2 separate regions of the Homo sapiens genome follow, and region 2 is linked to region 1. The links are contacts of gene promoters, found by promoter capture Hi-C in blood cells and fetal thymus (Javierre and others, 2016). All regions are on one chromosome and are shown on one strand. The core of a region is centred on a gene start or on the middle of the fragment in contact, and the rest is flanking DNA. Distances in the headings are between cores, read along the strand shown. Region 1 holds the start of ARMCX2 (armadillo repeat containing X-linked 2). Region 2 has its middle 17 kb from the start of HNRNPH2.

Region 1 (7,396 bases), core at 545-3,044:
CTCATGCACATACCAACCTGGGATCAAGAGCAGTTTGCTTTTTTCCACTGTAGCTGCAGTTGCACAGAGCCCAAAAGGAAGACAGACCTGAGGACAGATCAGAAAGGGCGTTTTTGAGCCATTGGTGGACGAATTCTGGTTCTTTTCCTGATTTGGGCCCCTGTGGGTCAAAGGTTTTCCCCCCTCAGGGATCCTCTTTTCCTCTTCAGCCTCTCCTCCCCCAAATATTAACTAAGGCAGATGCCACGCCCCTTTCTCTGCACCAAAAAGAAAGGGCCTGGGGCAAGGGTGTCTTTGAAATTAAAAGAGAGAAGATGCAGGAGGAGCCTCTGGTCCCATACTCTACTCTTGTCTCTGCCACACCCACACCAGGGGGCCCCAGACAATTCCAACCCCAGCACTGACCCTCCAAAGATTCAAGGCTGTTTCTCCTTACTTCAGTTCAGTTAGAGCTTCATCCTAAGGACAGACTGAAGAGCAGAAATATAGACTGTCGACGTTAGACAATGAAAGCCTGGTGGATGGATCAGCATCCAGGACAAGGGTCTCAGTAACTGCCTTTTCGTGTTTGCACATCAGAATGTCAAATGATTCTACCTCTCAATTCCTTCAACTCTTCTCACCCCACCCCTCCCACCTCAATCCTCCTCCTGCGCAGGCTCCCCAGGCACTCAATCCCTCCTTCCGCTTTGCCCCGCCCCCGTCCGCCATTTCTCCAGGACACACCGCCACACCCCTTCTCCTGCAACGAAGCGGGAGGGGAGCGGGGCGAGGGTGCAGCAAAAGCTGGATGGGACGCGGTATGGGGGACTCCTGCCAAACAATTCAGTGTTCCCCTCCCAGGATCACCCATCTTTCGCTCCCCAGCCCCTAGGCCTAGCGTTAGCCTGCAGAAGAGGGGCCTCAACGTCTGCCTTTTCGGGTTCAGGGTCGAGATTTTCCACGATTTCTCTGCTATGGGCTCTACCTCCCACTTCCCACAAATCCCCCCAACAACCGCCATTTCTCCCGCCTGCATACCCGAATTCCTTTTCCAGGACTGAAAAGACGGGGGGTGAACGGCTGTGTGGGCCGGAGGTGTCTGGAAAGCAGTCTGCGAGTTAACAAGGCGGTTTAATACCAGATTCTCTCAGGGTCCGCCCCCTCCCCCCCACCTCCCGTGAAGCCCAGACAGCGCCAAACCCGCCACCTCTCCAACAGCAGCTGGTACACCCATTTCCCAGCACTCCCAAATCACAGAGGGTCGGCTGGGGGATGGGAGGGTGCCGGGGCGGTGGTGGGGAAAGTCAGGGTGGGAGTGTGCCGCCCAGATTGTTACCAAATTGCATGCCCCACCCCCGCCTCCTGGTTACCCTTTCCCAACCTCCCTGCTGGCCTTCTATGCGCTGCCACGTTTATTTCTCTTCCCTCCTCCTCTCAAAACAGGACGGAATGTGGGGTGCGGGCCTGAATATTATAAACAAAACCAAAAAACACTGGCTGGAAAGGAAGTAAGCGGATTCTTCGTAAAGTCTATCAAAAGTCTTTTCGTTTCCCCCTCCCCCTTTCCCCACCGCCCACCAAAATGAGCCGCGTTTGAGCACCTCAGGTCTGGAAAGCCGGCCAGGAGTGGGGGAGACCGAGGCACCCGCGGCCTCCGACTCCCGCATCCCTAGATTACCCCTATTCAGGGGTCCCAGACTGTGCCCACCCTCACACCCACCTGCCCGAATCTGGGGGAATTTTCTCCTCCTCCTCCTCGCCTGGGTTAAACGCACGGCAGCGAGCTGCGCAATAGAGTTGGTACCCAGAGGAGGACGGAGAACGACGGTCAGGGCTTTAAGTACCTTTGCCCACGTCAGCTCCTGGTCACGTGAGGGCTGCATCGCCAGTAAGCTTGGGTCCCCAATTTCCACTCCCACCAAGAGTACGAGCCCCCTCCTTTACTTCCATTCCCATCTCACCCCACCACATCAGGTCCTGTCACTCATTTTTTTGTCTTTGTAGTCCTGGAGGCCTAAAGTAGCCCCTTCTCCCTGCTTTCACAATTTGCCTTTCTCTGGTTACCTGGGAGGGGCTGCATCTTCTCGGAGGGCTACTGAAAATTTTTACTTTTTTGTTGGGGAATTGTTTCATCCTTTCCTGGGCTACTGGACACTCTTCCATCTCTCCACCTCTAGTTCCTCAGCCCCTAGTCCCCAGGATTTTCCTTGCAGTTGACTCCCTGTTCCAGTATAGTTAAGGGGCAGAGTGTCAGAAAGGAGACAAGGAGTGGGAGTGGGGTCTGTACTTCTCAAATACTTCTGTTTTGTTTTCAAAACTATCATCATGCTTTATTTTTATAGTAAGAAAATTCAGTAAAACAAGAATTCAATGTGGGAAGTAGCAACAAAAAAAGGGTGGGCATGTTTTGTAAAGAAAAAAGGTTTCCTGCGTCCATTGGAAAGCACCATTAATTTTGGTTAATTTTTACCGAATAGAACATGAATTCTTTTGGTCACATAGGAAATAGTTTTTAAAATATGCTAAGGTATTTGAACATCTAAAATGGAATATTTCTCAATAAGATAAGCATATTTCCATGTGATCTGTAAATTGATCCACAGAGAGATGTTCAGTTCTTCAATCTTGTTTATTTTGGACAAATAATACGCTACTTTTTTCTCCTTCTGGGACAGCTTTTAAGTTGCATAAATAAATGATCCTGTCTTGTCCTGTTAGAGAAACACATTTATTTAATATTCCCAAACCATTGCTGACTGCTGTGTGTGAACCTCCTGTAATTTGATGGCTGTAACCATGACAGTTTTAAACACCTGTCTTCGGATTAGGTTCCAGTTAATGATTCAACTCTGGGCAAAAGGAAGAGCTGTGAGGCCAAGGAAACTGAGTGTGGTGGGTGCAGAGTGGTCAAATCCTCCCTGCCCTGTCAGGAGGAGGAGGGAGATGCTGTCTCTCTACTCCCTCCCATATGCCAGAGCCGCTCATCTCCTGCATTCAGGTACCTGGCTCAGTTGCTCACACCCAAAATATATCCAGACAAGTGACCAAGATGCAGACCTGGTTAAATGTCTTTGGCTCTTTCCGTCCCTCCCCCAAGTTCCCAGAGGAAACCCATTGATGCATAGAAAGGATTGCTGTTCTTACCTGACCCTGCAGCTGACGATTTGTGAAACCTGTGATTTCACAAAAAGGTTTTTGTGATCACACAAAAAGTGATTGTTGGGGGAAGTTCCCAGGCCTGACTGCTGTCTGTCCTTATTCGTGGTTACCAGTGAACCTTGCTCCAAACACTGTCTGCTACTACCACTTGGCCTAAGAGATGCATCCTCCTGGGCCTCTCACTTCTGCCTCCTTAGCTCCAGGGGACCTAGGAAGAGTCTAGCCTTCCTGCAAGGTTACTGCCTGCCAGTACACATCCACCTTGGTGCCCTCTCAACCAAATGTATGCCCAGGGAACAATCCCCACTGATGAACCCAGAGTAGGTGTTCTCACCCGGTCAACTCTGTAGACCACCTGAAATTGCATTCACCTGCAAAGCTTTGTTTGGGATTATATGTGTGGTTAAATGCATTTTTTTCAGGAACAGAGATCACTGACCTCATCAGTTTCTCAAGGGGTCTGTAACCCCCGCCCTGCAAAAAATTAAGAGCTAATACAATGGCCAAGAGGGTCTGTGTTATATATATATAATAGTCCAGATTAGGAATCTTGTATTTTGTTCTGGTAATACAAGTATTATATATTAGTGGTTAAAAATATTCAAAACAATAAGGAAATATATAAAGTATACAGGGAAAGAAACTTTTGTTATCTTTTCCACTCCCAGCCACTGTCAACAGTTTCCAACTTTCTTTTTAGACACATTAGTAGTGCGTTTGTGCTTATTAATCAAGTTCCAAATTTTTGTGATCTGTTTTATTAATTCTAATTTAAAGTGATACCTTTGGTTTATCTTGGTATTATATATAATCATTTGTAAATGATGATTTTTCATTTCTTCCTTTCCAACATTTATGCCCCCTTTTCTTTCTTCTTCTGCATGAGTCATTCTTGGTTAAATTAGACATAAACGAAAATATCCTTAACCTGATGAAGAATATATCAGAAGTTCTTCTGATCTGGCAGATTCGTCCCTCCCTGTGGTCTACCAAGATCACAGAACTTAATGACTGGCATTGACTAGAACTTCCTTACGAGCCTCCTGATCTTGTTCTTGAAGACAGTGGGAATGCCTCTTTTGTTTCATTATTTAGTATAACTTTTGTTGTTTGTGATTGATGTATTTTTTTTTCAAGGCTAATTTCACTTATGTTTACTAGTCCCTCTCTTTCTCTCTGTCGCACGTGCACACACACACGTAGTACAAAGAAATACTATCAGTGAATGGAGGCAAGTCATTAAGTTCTGTAATCTTGATAGTCCAGAGAAAGGGATGAATCTGCCAGATCAGAAGAGCTCCTGATATCTTCTTCATCAGGTTAAGGATATTTTCTTTTATATCTAATTTAATTCATCTAAGAACGACTCATTAAATTACGTATAATTCTTTACTACATAAATGAAGTTCCCTCTTATTCCTATTTTACTTTTTTTTTAAATTAGGAATGGTTACTTATTTTATCAAATGCTTTCATTATGAGGTTTCTTTTCTTCTTTGGTTTGCTGTTGTCAGGAATGATGTAGACAGGCCAGTCTCCCTGTCACTCTTCTCTTCCTATAGTTTATTCTCAACATATCCAGACACATGTCCCTTGTTCAAACTCCCCACCCACTTACTGTGTTGTTTAGAGGAAATATAAATGTCCTTATTATAACTGACAAGGCCCTACCCTGTTCAATCTTACTACTTTTCTGCCTAATCTACTTCTCTCTCTCTATCTAACTCACCCTACTCAGTCATCTTGGCTTTCTTGATGTTCCTGGAATATACTGGACATGTTCCCTTTACAGAGCCTTTTCAGTTGCTCGTCTCCTTACCTGGGATGTATTTCCATCCCACATCACCACACTTAGTTAGATCCCTCACAGACTTCAGATCTTTACTCAAAGGTCACCTTTTTAGTGAGTCCTTCCTTGGTCACCCTTTCTAAAAGTTCATCCCATCTTGACTTTTCATATCTTCTTTCCTGCCATTTATTTTTTCTTTAGTACTTATTAATAACAATATACTATATGTTTTATCTTGTTGGTTGGTTGTCTCTTTCACTAGAAAGTAAGAACTATGAGGTTAGAAATTTAGGTCATCTCTATTCACCGCTGTAACCACAGCATCAAGAACAATGCATGGCATGTAGTACCTGCTCAGTACACATGTTGAATAAATGAATAAATGAATGAATGGCTTTCCAACACTCAACCACCTTTACACTCCAGAAAAAAGCCTAGTTGGTTCTGGCATATCATCAGATTTGTAAACTCTCAAATGAGTGATTACCTAATCAGGATGTTGTCATGGGACAAGATGTAGAAAACTTAAGATTGCTTTGAGTGACATGTGCAGAACTCATTATGCAGTGAGAATTATTGTTTATGATATATGCCATTTAATAAAAGTGAATCATTTTTCTTGAATGGAAATAGTTCTTTAACATTTTTCAATAATAAAAATGCATGTTTGTATAACAAAGAACAGAATGGTGTTAACAAGAAAGTAACAGAATCCATTCCTACTGTTTCCTTTCCTGACACTCCCTCCCTCATCTTCATTTCCAGGTATTTTCAGGACTGCAGAGATGAACATTAGTGAGCCCAAATGGAAGTGGTGAAGGGAGCAGAGAAGAGGATGGGCCCGTTTCCCAGAGAAGCAGAAATGACCAGTAGCTCAGGAGAAGATGCTGTTTCTTCTGGTAATCAGAGAAAGATGACACTTTTGTTGTGTGCACGAAGACTAAAAAGAAAACGAGTGACAGTGCCCTGCATGGTGGAGGTGGTGGGAGGGAAGGCGGGGGAGTGAGGGGCCTTGCAAATAATGGGAGGGGAAATTTGGGACCCAGACTCACCAGTGACGTGGCTTCACGTGACCAGGAGCTGACATGCTGGTGTGTTGGTCCAAATAGCGGTTCCTCCTCAGCTACCAGCTCCCTGTTTCCTTAAAGGTGGTGTGACTGTGGCCAAAGAAGGTGGAGGAGGACAGGGAGGAAACCCATCCAGATCCTTGTAGGTTGCTGTGAAGGTGGGTGTTGATTGGAGACTCCTGAAGTCCAGGTGGAAGGGAGCAGCACAATTTTCAAGTTAGGAGGCACTTCTCTGTTTCCCCAAGGGGACAACCCGAACCCAGGCTTGTTCTCATTTTGTGACTTGTCAAAGGCAGGGCAGTGTCAGCAGCAGAAATGGTTGACATTGGTGACTAGAGGAGGTGGAGGGGAGAAAGTGGTTATCATGTAGCAGAGTGACGGAGGACTGTGAAATAAGAGACAGGCTTGACAACCTGGATTCTGAACAGGGAAAGGTCTGGGTCTGGACCTACATTCAGATGTTGGTGCATCCACTGAGCACTAAGTCCGAATTGTCTTTTCTTTGTTCCTGTCTGGTTTTCGCTTCCGTCTGTCTGTGTCTGCTGCTCTGTCTGTCAGTGGTGGGGTTTCCACGCAAAAGGAGGAGAAGCTAAAAGCTTCATTTCCTTCCTCCTTCCCCTCCCCCTAAACACTCAGTCCCTACATCCAACTTGATTGAAGCTTCAAACTCCTGCCCTCAATGTGTTCTCACTAGCCTAAGGGAGCACCCCTGAGACATTCACAGTGCTGTAGAATGGTCCGAGCTTAGAACTCAGACTTGATGGCAGTGGGACTGGTGATTTGGGCTGGTGCCTCGTACTACATATACTGACTGGCCTGTGGTAGACAGCAAAAAAAGAAGAGACCAGCTGATTTGAAAAACAATAATCACATCTACAAAAGTTTAGAAAATACAGAAAACTATAAGAAATAAAATAAAAATAAGCCACCAATAATTACCACTCCTTGTCTTTCCTCTCTAAGAATGTGGTTGTGTGTATTTAACATTATTGCAGTCATACTATATGTTGCCCTGAAATTATTATTTTTTCAGAAGCATTGCAGGGTATTACTTTTATTAGTTAATGAAAATGCTTCATAAACATCCTATTAATTAATGTTTCATAATAACAAAGCATAATAATCATAACCTTACCCTTTTGCTGCCTTTCATGAAGCAGGTATGAAACTTAACTCATGTGTGAAAGAATTATTAAACATCTTTATTTTTGTAAAAAAACCCAGTCCTCTGTAGATTCCAGGATGGCAAAACATCCTATCACATGGATTTGGAGGTGGTGCCAGGTCCCTGGGGTTACCCATTACCAAGGTATTGGGGAGTGTCTTTCTATACTTGTTATAGCTGTGAAACGGATCATCCATGTTTCCATGAGTTTCCATGAGCCTTTCAATGGGCCAG
Region 2 (7,396 bases), core at 3,122-5,621, 230 kb before region 1:
TGCTTGTAATCCCAGCTACTCGGGAGGGTGAGGCAGGAGAATCGCTTGAACCCGGGAGGCAGAGGTTGTGGTGAGCTGAGATCGCGCCATTGCACACCAGCCTGGGCAACAAGAGCAAAACTCTGTCTCAAAAAAAAAAAAAAAAAAAAAGAAAGGAAAAGAAAATATTGCCCTGGCTACAGTGTGGATAAAGGATTGGGAAGGAGTCAGAATGTATGGAGAGTTTTATTAGAAGCCATTTCAACAATCTAGAGTAGAGGTAATAGTAGCTTGTACTACAATAGCCATGGTTTACATGGAGGGGATTGGTATATTTTAGGGTTTCTTAGGAGGTAAAATCTGCAGGACTTGGCAATGGATTGGAATTGGGAGGGAGGGAGTGTGATATTGTGAAGTACACATTTAGTCTTTAGTTTGTTTTGTGCTGCTATAACAATACCCGATAGTGGGTAATTTATAAACAGAAATTTATTGCCTTACAGTTCTGGAAGATAGGAAGTCTAAGGTTAAGGTGTGGGCAGGTTTGGTGTCTGGTGAGGCCATTCTCTTTTTCCAAGATGGTCCCTGCACACACTGTGTCCTCCAGAGGGGAGGAAGGCTAGATCATGACATGGCAGAAGACAGAAAGAAGGGCCAAGAGATAGAGCAAGAGGAGACCGATCTTGCCCTTTTATAATGGCATTAATCCCACCTGTGAGGGTAGAGCCCTCATGGCTTAATCACCTCTTAAAAGTCTCACCTCTTAATACTATTACTGCAACCGCCCAGTGGGTTCACCTTGCCTGCTGCCTAGACAGAGATTTATCAAGACAGGAGAGTTGAAATGAAGAAAGAGTAATTCACACACAGCCGGCTGTGCAGGAGACCAGAGTTTTGTTATTACTTAAATCAGTCTCCCAGAGCATTTGGGGGATCAGTTATTATTATTATTATTATTATTATTATTATTATTATTATTTGAGACAGAGTCTTGCTCTGTTGCCCAGGCTGGAGTGCAATGATGTGATTTCGGCTCACTGCAACCTCTGCCTCCCGGGTTCAAGCGATTCTCCTGCCTCAGCCTCCCGAGTAGCTGGGATTACAGGTGCCCGCCACTATGCCAGGCCAATTTTTGTATTTTTTAGTAGAGATGGGGTTTCACCATGTTGGCCAGGCTGGTCTCGAACTCCTGACTTCAGGTGATCCACCCGCCTCAGCCTCCCAAAGTGCTGGGATTACAGGCGTGAGCCACCGTGCCTGGCTGGGATCAGAGTTTTTAAAGATAACTTGGTGGGTAGGGGCTTGGGAAGTACGGAGTGCTGATCAGTCAGGTTGGAGATGGAATCATAGGGGGTCGAAGTGAGTCTTTCTTGCAGTTTTGTGTTCTGGGTGGGATGGCAGAACTGGTTGAGCCAGATTACAGGTCTGGGTGGTGTCAGCTGCTCCATCGAGTTCAGGGTCTGAAAAGTATCTCAGGCACTGATCTTAGGTTTCACAATAGTGATGTTATCCCCAGGAGCAATTTGGGGAGGTTCAGACTCTTGGAGCCAGAGGCTGCATGACCCCTAAACTGTAATTTCTAATCTTGTAGCTAATTTGTTAGTCCTGCACAGGCAGACTAGTCCCCAGGAAAGAAACGCCTATGATCAATTTTGTTTCAGAATCAAACCACAAACTGAATTCCTTCCCAAAGTTAGTTTGACCTATGCCCAGGAATGAACAAGGACAGCTTAAAGGTTAGAAGCAAGGTGGAGTCGGTTAGGTCTGATTTCTTTCACTGTCATAATTTCCTCAGTTATAATTTTGCAAAGGTGATTTCATTACAATGGCAATTAAATTTTTCATTTTTATTTTATTTATATATATATATTTTTGAGACGGAGTCTCACTATGTTGCCCAGATTGGAGTGCAGTGGCGCAATCTTGGCTCAGTGCAACCTCTACCTCCTGGGCTCAAGCGATTCTCCTGCCTCAGCCTCCCGAGTAGCTGGGATTACAGGCGCCCACCACCATGCCCAGCTAATCTTTGTATTTTTACTAGAGACAATGTTTCACCATGTTGGCCAGGCTGGTCTTGAACTCCTGACCTCAGGCGATCCACTGGCCTCGGCCCCCCAAAGTGCTGGGATTACAGGCGTGAGCCACCATGCCCATGGGGCAATTAAATTTTAACATGAGTTTTGGAGAAGACAAACATTCAAACCATGGTAGTCTTCATCCTCATTTTCGCGAATTACAGCTTTTAAAACCCTTAGAATCTCTGAGGTGATGAGAGTATCTTTTGCCCTGGGTGGTGGCTCACGCTTGTAATCCCAGCACTTTGGGAGGCCGAGGTGGGCGGATCACCAGGGGTCAGGAGTTTGAGACCAGCCTGACCAACATCGTGAAACCCCATCTCTACTAAGAATACACAATTAGCCGGGCATGGTGACACATGCCTGTAATCCCAGCTACTTGGGACGCTGAGGCAGGAGAATCGCTTGAACCTGGGAGGCGGAGGTTGCAGTGAGCTGAGATCACGCCATTGCACTCTAGCCTGGGCAACAAGAGTGAAACTCCGTCTCAAAAAAATAAAAATAAAAATAAAAATAAAAAAGTATCTTTTGCATGCTAATGAGATAACTGGTGGCTGAGGCTCCTAGGTAGATTTAGGACGGGGGCGCTGGTCAAGGCAGGATTAGAGAGTTGAGACTTTTTCACCACACCCCCAGCCTCTGGGGAAGGGAGAGGAGCTGAAGGTTAAATTGACTAGCAGTGGCCAATGATGTAATCAATCATGCCTACATAGTAAAGCCTCTATTTTATTTATTTTTTATTTTTATATTTTGAGATGGAGTCTCACTCTTGTTGCCCAGGCTGGAGTATAATGGCGTGATCTTGCCTCACTGCAACCTCCATCTCACGGGTTCAAGCGATTCTCCTGCCTCAGCCTCCCAAGTAGCTGGGATTACAGGCATGCACCACCACGCCTGGCAAATTTTGTATTTTTAGTAGAGACAGGGTTTTGCCATGTTGGTGGGGCTGGTCTCGAACTCCTGACCTTATGTGATCCACCCACCTCGGCCTCCCAAAGTGCTGGGATTACAGGCGTGAGCCACCGTGCCTGGCTGTAAAGTCTATAAAAACCCGAAAGAATTGGGTTTGGAGAGCTTCTGGATAGCGAACACATGGAGGTACCTAGAGGGTGCTGTGCTTGTAGGGGGCATGGAAGCTTGGTGCCCCTTATCCTGTACCTTGTCCTATGTGATTGTTCCATCTGGCTGTCCATCTATATGCTTTGTAATATCCTTTATAATAAACCTGTAAACATGTTTTTCAGAGTTCTGTGACCCTCTCTAGCAAATTAATCAAACCCAAGGGGAGGGTCATGGGAACCCTGATTTACAGTGGGTCAGTCAGAAGCATAGCTTACAACCTGGCATCTGAAGTGGAGAGCAGTCTTGTGAGCCTGAGCTCTCAAACTGTGGGATCTGACACTATCTCCAGGTAGGTAGTAACAGAACTGAATTCAATTAGAGGACATCCAGCTGGTGTCCACTGCAAAACTGATTGCTTGATGTATGGGAAAATTCTCCCATACATCTGGGGCTACAGAAGCATTCTATATTAAATAGAGAGTATAGGAAAATCCACATTTTGTTTACTCCCCCCTGTATCTTACAGTGAGAGTGAGCGGTCAAGGGTGACTTCTCAGTTTCTGGCTTGTACAACTGGATGTTTGGAGTAACAGCATTAAGAAGCAGGACCTTTAAGATCACATTGAATACTAAGTTCAGGTATGAGGACTGTGAGTTTAGTCTTAGACATACTGTGTTTGACGTGCCTTTGAGAACACCCAAGAGAATATAGGTAGTTGGATGGATGGATCTAGAGCTCAGAAGGGGCCTATATATTGGATATATAAATTGTGTGCTATATGGATATAGTTGATAATTCAAGCCATGTGTGGGGATAAGGTTGTCTAGGCCAAAGAGTATCAGAGTGAGAATGCAGGAGATCAAAGAAGGAGGCTTGAGAAACTCCAGTATTTCATGTGGAGTACAGGAGAGTCAGCCTGCAAAGGAGACTGGGAAACAGCAGCCAGGGAGGTTTAAAAGAAAGTTAGGAGGGACTTGTGTCATTGAAGCCAAAGAAAGAAACTGTTTCAAGATGTAGGGAATGGACTGTTAACAATGTCCATTGCTGCTCAGAGGTCAAATAAGATGTGGACTGGTAAATATGTGTTGCATTTAAGAATATGGAGGCATTGGTGTCCTGGATGGATCTATTTTCATGGAATGACGGGGCAGAAATCTAGAATGGAACAGATTGGAGTGTGGTTAGCAGAGAGAGGAAGGCACTTTTTTTTTTTTTTTTTGAGACGGAGTTTCACTCTTGTTGCCCAAGCTGGAGTGCAATGGTGCGATCTCGGCTCACTGCAACTTCCGCCTCCCGGGTTCAAGCAATTTTCCTGCCTCAGCCTCCCGAGTAGCTGGGATTACAGGCGCACACCACCATGCCCGACTAATTTTTTGTATTTTTAGTAGAAACGGGGTTTCACCATGTTAGCCAGGCTGGTCTTGAACTCCTTACCTCAGGTGATCCGCCTACCTCAGCCTCCCAAAGTGCTGGGATTACAGGTGTGAGGTACTGCGCCCAGCCGGTAGGCAAGTAATGGAAACAAAGAATATAGGCAGCTATTTGAAGCACTTTGGCTGTGAAGGGCATGGAAAAGTCAGGGTAGAAGCAGGAGCGAGACTACGGGTCAAGAGAGGCCTTTCAAATTATTTATTTATTTATTTTTTTGAGACAGGGTCTCACGCTGTTGCCCAGGCTGGAGTGCAGTGGCACAATCACAGCTCACTGCAGCCTTGATTTCTTGGGCTCAGGCGATTCTCCCACTTCAGTCTTCTGAGTAGCTGGGATTAGAGGTGCGCACACCACCACGCTGGGCTAATTTTTGCATTTTTTGTAGACATGGGGTCTTGCCATGTTACCCAGTCTGGTCTCGAATTCCAGGGCTCAAGCAATCTGCCTGCCTTAGCCTCCCAAAGTGCTGGGATTACAGTCTTGAGCTGCTGCACCCAGCCAAGGACTTTTTTTAATGGAGAAATTTTGTGGATGTGTAAAGTTTACAATTAAGGGTCTGTAGGGAGTGAGTGGTTAAAAATACAGCAGAGAGATGGGATAAATCATAGAGTACGTTTGCTAAGAGAGAGGAGCATCTGGAATCGAAAGCATAGGTGGAGGAATTAGTGTTCACTAAAAGGCAAGAGCATCTCTGTCTTAATTGAGGAACTAACTGCTGGTAGGATGTGTGCAGGTATAGTTGGTTTATGTTTGGTGTTAGGAAGATGAGAGACAACTTCCTTCTAAAGGCTCCCCCAACCCCGTTATTTTTTCTGTAAATGAGGGTGTGGTCATCTGCATGTAGAGATAATAAGGAGGAGGAGTTGGAAGGCTGAAGAGAATGGAGAAGGTTCAATGAGTTGTAAGGGTGAGAGCAGGTTGTAGGTTGACCAGAGAAAAATAGAAGGACTGCTGAGAAATGTTGATGGCTCACTTCTGGTTGTTGATGGTAAATTTACTATGAGCCAAGCTTTATTTTTTTCTAAGTGCTTCTCTAAGTGTTCTAGTGTTTTATTTAATCCCCAAAGCAGCTCTATGAGGTAGGTATTATTATTATCACCCCCTTGTCACAGATGGTAAAATGGAGGTACAGCAAAGTTGTGTCATTTGTTTAAGGACAAAGAGCTAGCTAGGTTTGGAGCCAGGTAGTCTGACTCCAAAGCCCATGATCTTAACCATCACTCTAAAATATATCCTAAAAATAGGTCCTGATCATACTTTTTCATTGATAAACATAGATCTGTATAATCACATTTAAGGACTACATTGTTGGTTTTATGCTTGATGGTCTGTCCAGTGACTTTTCCAGAAACTCTCTAGCTGCATTCTTGAGTCAATGCCAAATCTCAGAAAGGAGAGAGCTTATTTGAACCCTATGTTACAAGAGTTTTGATTTCCTTTCCTTCTAGTTTGTTGTATTTTCCAATTTTCTATAGAGAGTACATATAATTTTCATTTTGTGGGGAAAAATAAAGTTAACATCTCTAAAATAAAAAAGCCAGGCTAGGAAGGGAATAGAGGTCTAAGACTCAGTGTTTTTAAAATCTACTATAGCTAAACATGTTTACTTTGTGTCTTAGTTTATTTTGTGTTACTATAACAGAATATCTGAGACTGTGTAATTTATAAAGAAAAGAGGTTTATTTAGAGGTTTATTTAGTTTTGCAGGCTGGGAAGTTCAAGGGCATGGCCTCAGCTTCTGGTGAGAGCTTTCTCTCTCTCATTTTTTTTTTCAAGACAGAGTCTTGCTCTGTCGCCCAGGCTGGAGTGCAATGGTGCAATCTTGGCTCACTGCAACCTCCACCTCCCAGGTTCAAGCAATTCTCCTGCCTCAGCCTCCCACGTAGCTGGGACTACAGGTGCACGCCACTGTGTCTGGCTAATTTTTTTTGTAGTTTTAGTAGAGATGGGGTTACACCATGTTGGCCAGGCTGGTCTCGAACTCCTGATCACAGGTGATCCGCCTGCCTTGGCCTCCTAAAGTGCTGGGATTACAGGCATGAGCCACTGTGCCTGGCCGAGAGCTTTCTTGACACATCATAACATGGCAGAGAAGGTCAAAGGGGAAGTGAACACATGTGAAGAGGCAAAACCTTAGGGGCATCCTGGCTTTATAAAATCCTACTCTTGTGGGAACTAATTCATTCCTAAGGGAATGAATCCAGTTTTGAAAGAGGGAGAACTCACTCACTACCATGAGAATGGCACCAAGCCAATCATGAGGTATCTGCTCTCATGACCCAAACACCTTCCATTAGGCCCCACCTCCCAACATGCCACATTAGGGATCAAATTTCAACATGAGTTTTGGTGAGGACAAACTATATCCAAAGTATAGCATTCTATAATTCAACAACTCCATTCCTAGAAATTTCATTTCAAGAGAAATTAAAGCTTATGTGTATATAAAGACGTGTACACCGGTGTTCTTACCAATTTTATTTATAATTGCCCCAAACTGGAAACAGACAAATGTGCATAAACAAGTGAGTAGATAAACTGTGGTATATCCATACAAGGGAATACTATTTAGCAATAAAAAGGAATAAATCCTTCATATATACACCAACATGGACAAATCTCAAAATAATTATGCTGGGTGAAAGATGTCAGATTAAAAAAGAGAGTATATACTGTATTATTACATTTATATAGTATAGGAAATGCAAATTAATATACATTTTCAGTACTCAGATCAGTGGTTACCTCTGAAGGTGAGGATTAACTAGGAAGGGGCATGAAGGAATCTTATGAGGTGATGGAGGTGTTTTATATCTTGGTCTAGTTACACCAGTGTATACATATCAAT

Evidence for each region. The method cuts DNA at HindIII sites, captures the fragments that hold promoters and counts their contacts. A CHiCAGO score of 5 or more calls a contact.
Region 2: a contact is called between a fragment that was not itself captured here and the fragment with the promoter of ARMCX2 in region 1, in 1 of 17 cell types (M0 macrophages). The highest score is 5.0, in M0 macrophages.

The regions. Positions count from the first base shown.
Region 1 is chrX:101,658,056-101,665,451 of GRCh38, forward strand. It overlaps ARMCX2 (armadillo repeat containing X-linked 2), which reads right to left and starts at 1,795. Exons shown (of 6, transcript NM_177949.4): 1 at 1,703-1,795; 2 at 1,364-1,446; 3 at 1,021-1,093; 4 at 406-470; 5 at 18-87. The HindIII fragment of the contact is 4,840 bases long and covers 1-1,873 here.
Region 2 is chrX:101,421,075-101,428,470 of GRCh38, forward strand. It overlaps a transcript of ARMCX4 not described here. Among named protein-coding and RNA genes, the nearest start is that of HNRNPH2, 17 kb to the left of the region's middle. The HindIII fragment of the contact is 2,367 bases long and covers 3,189-5,555 here.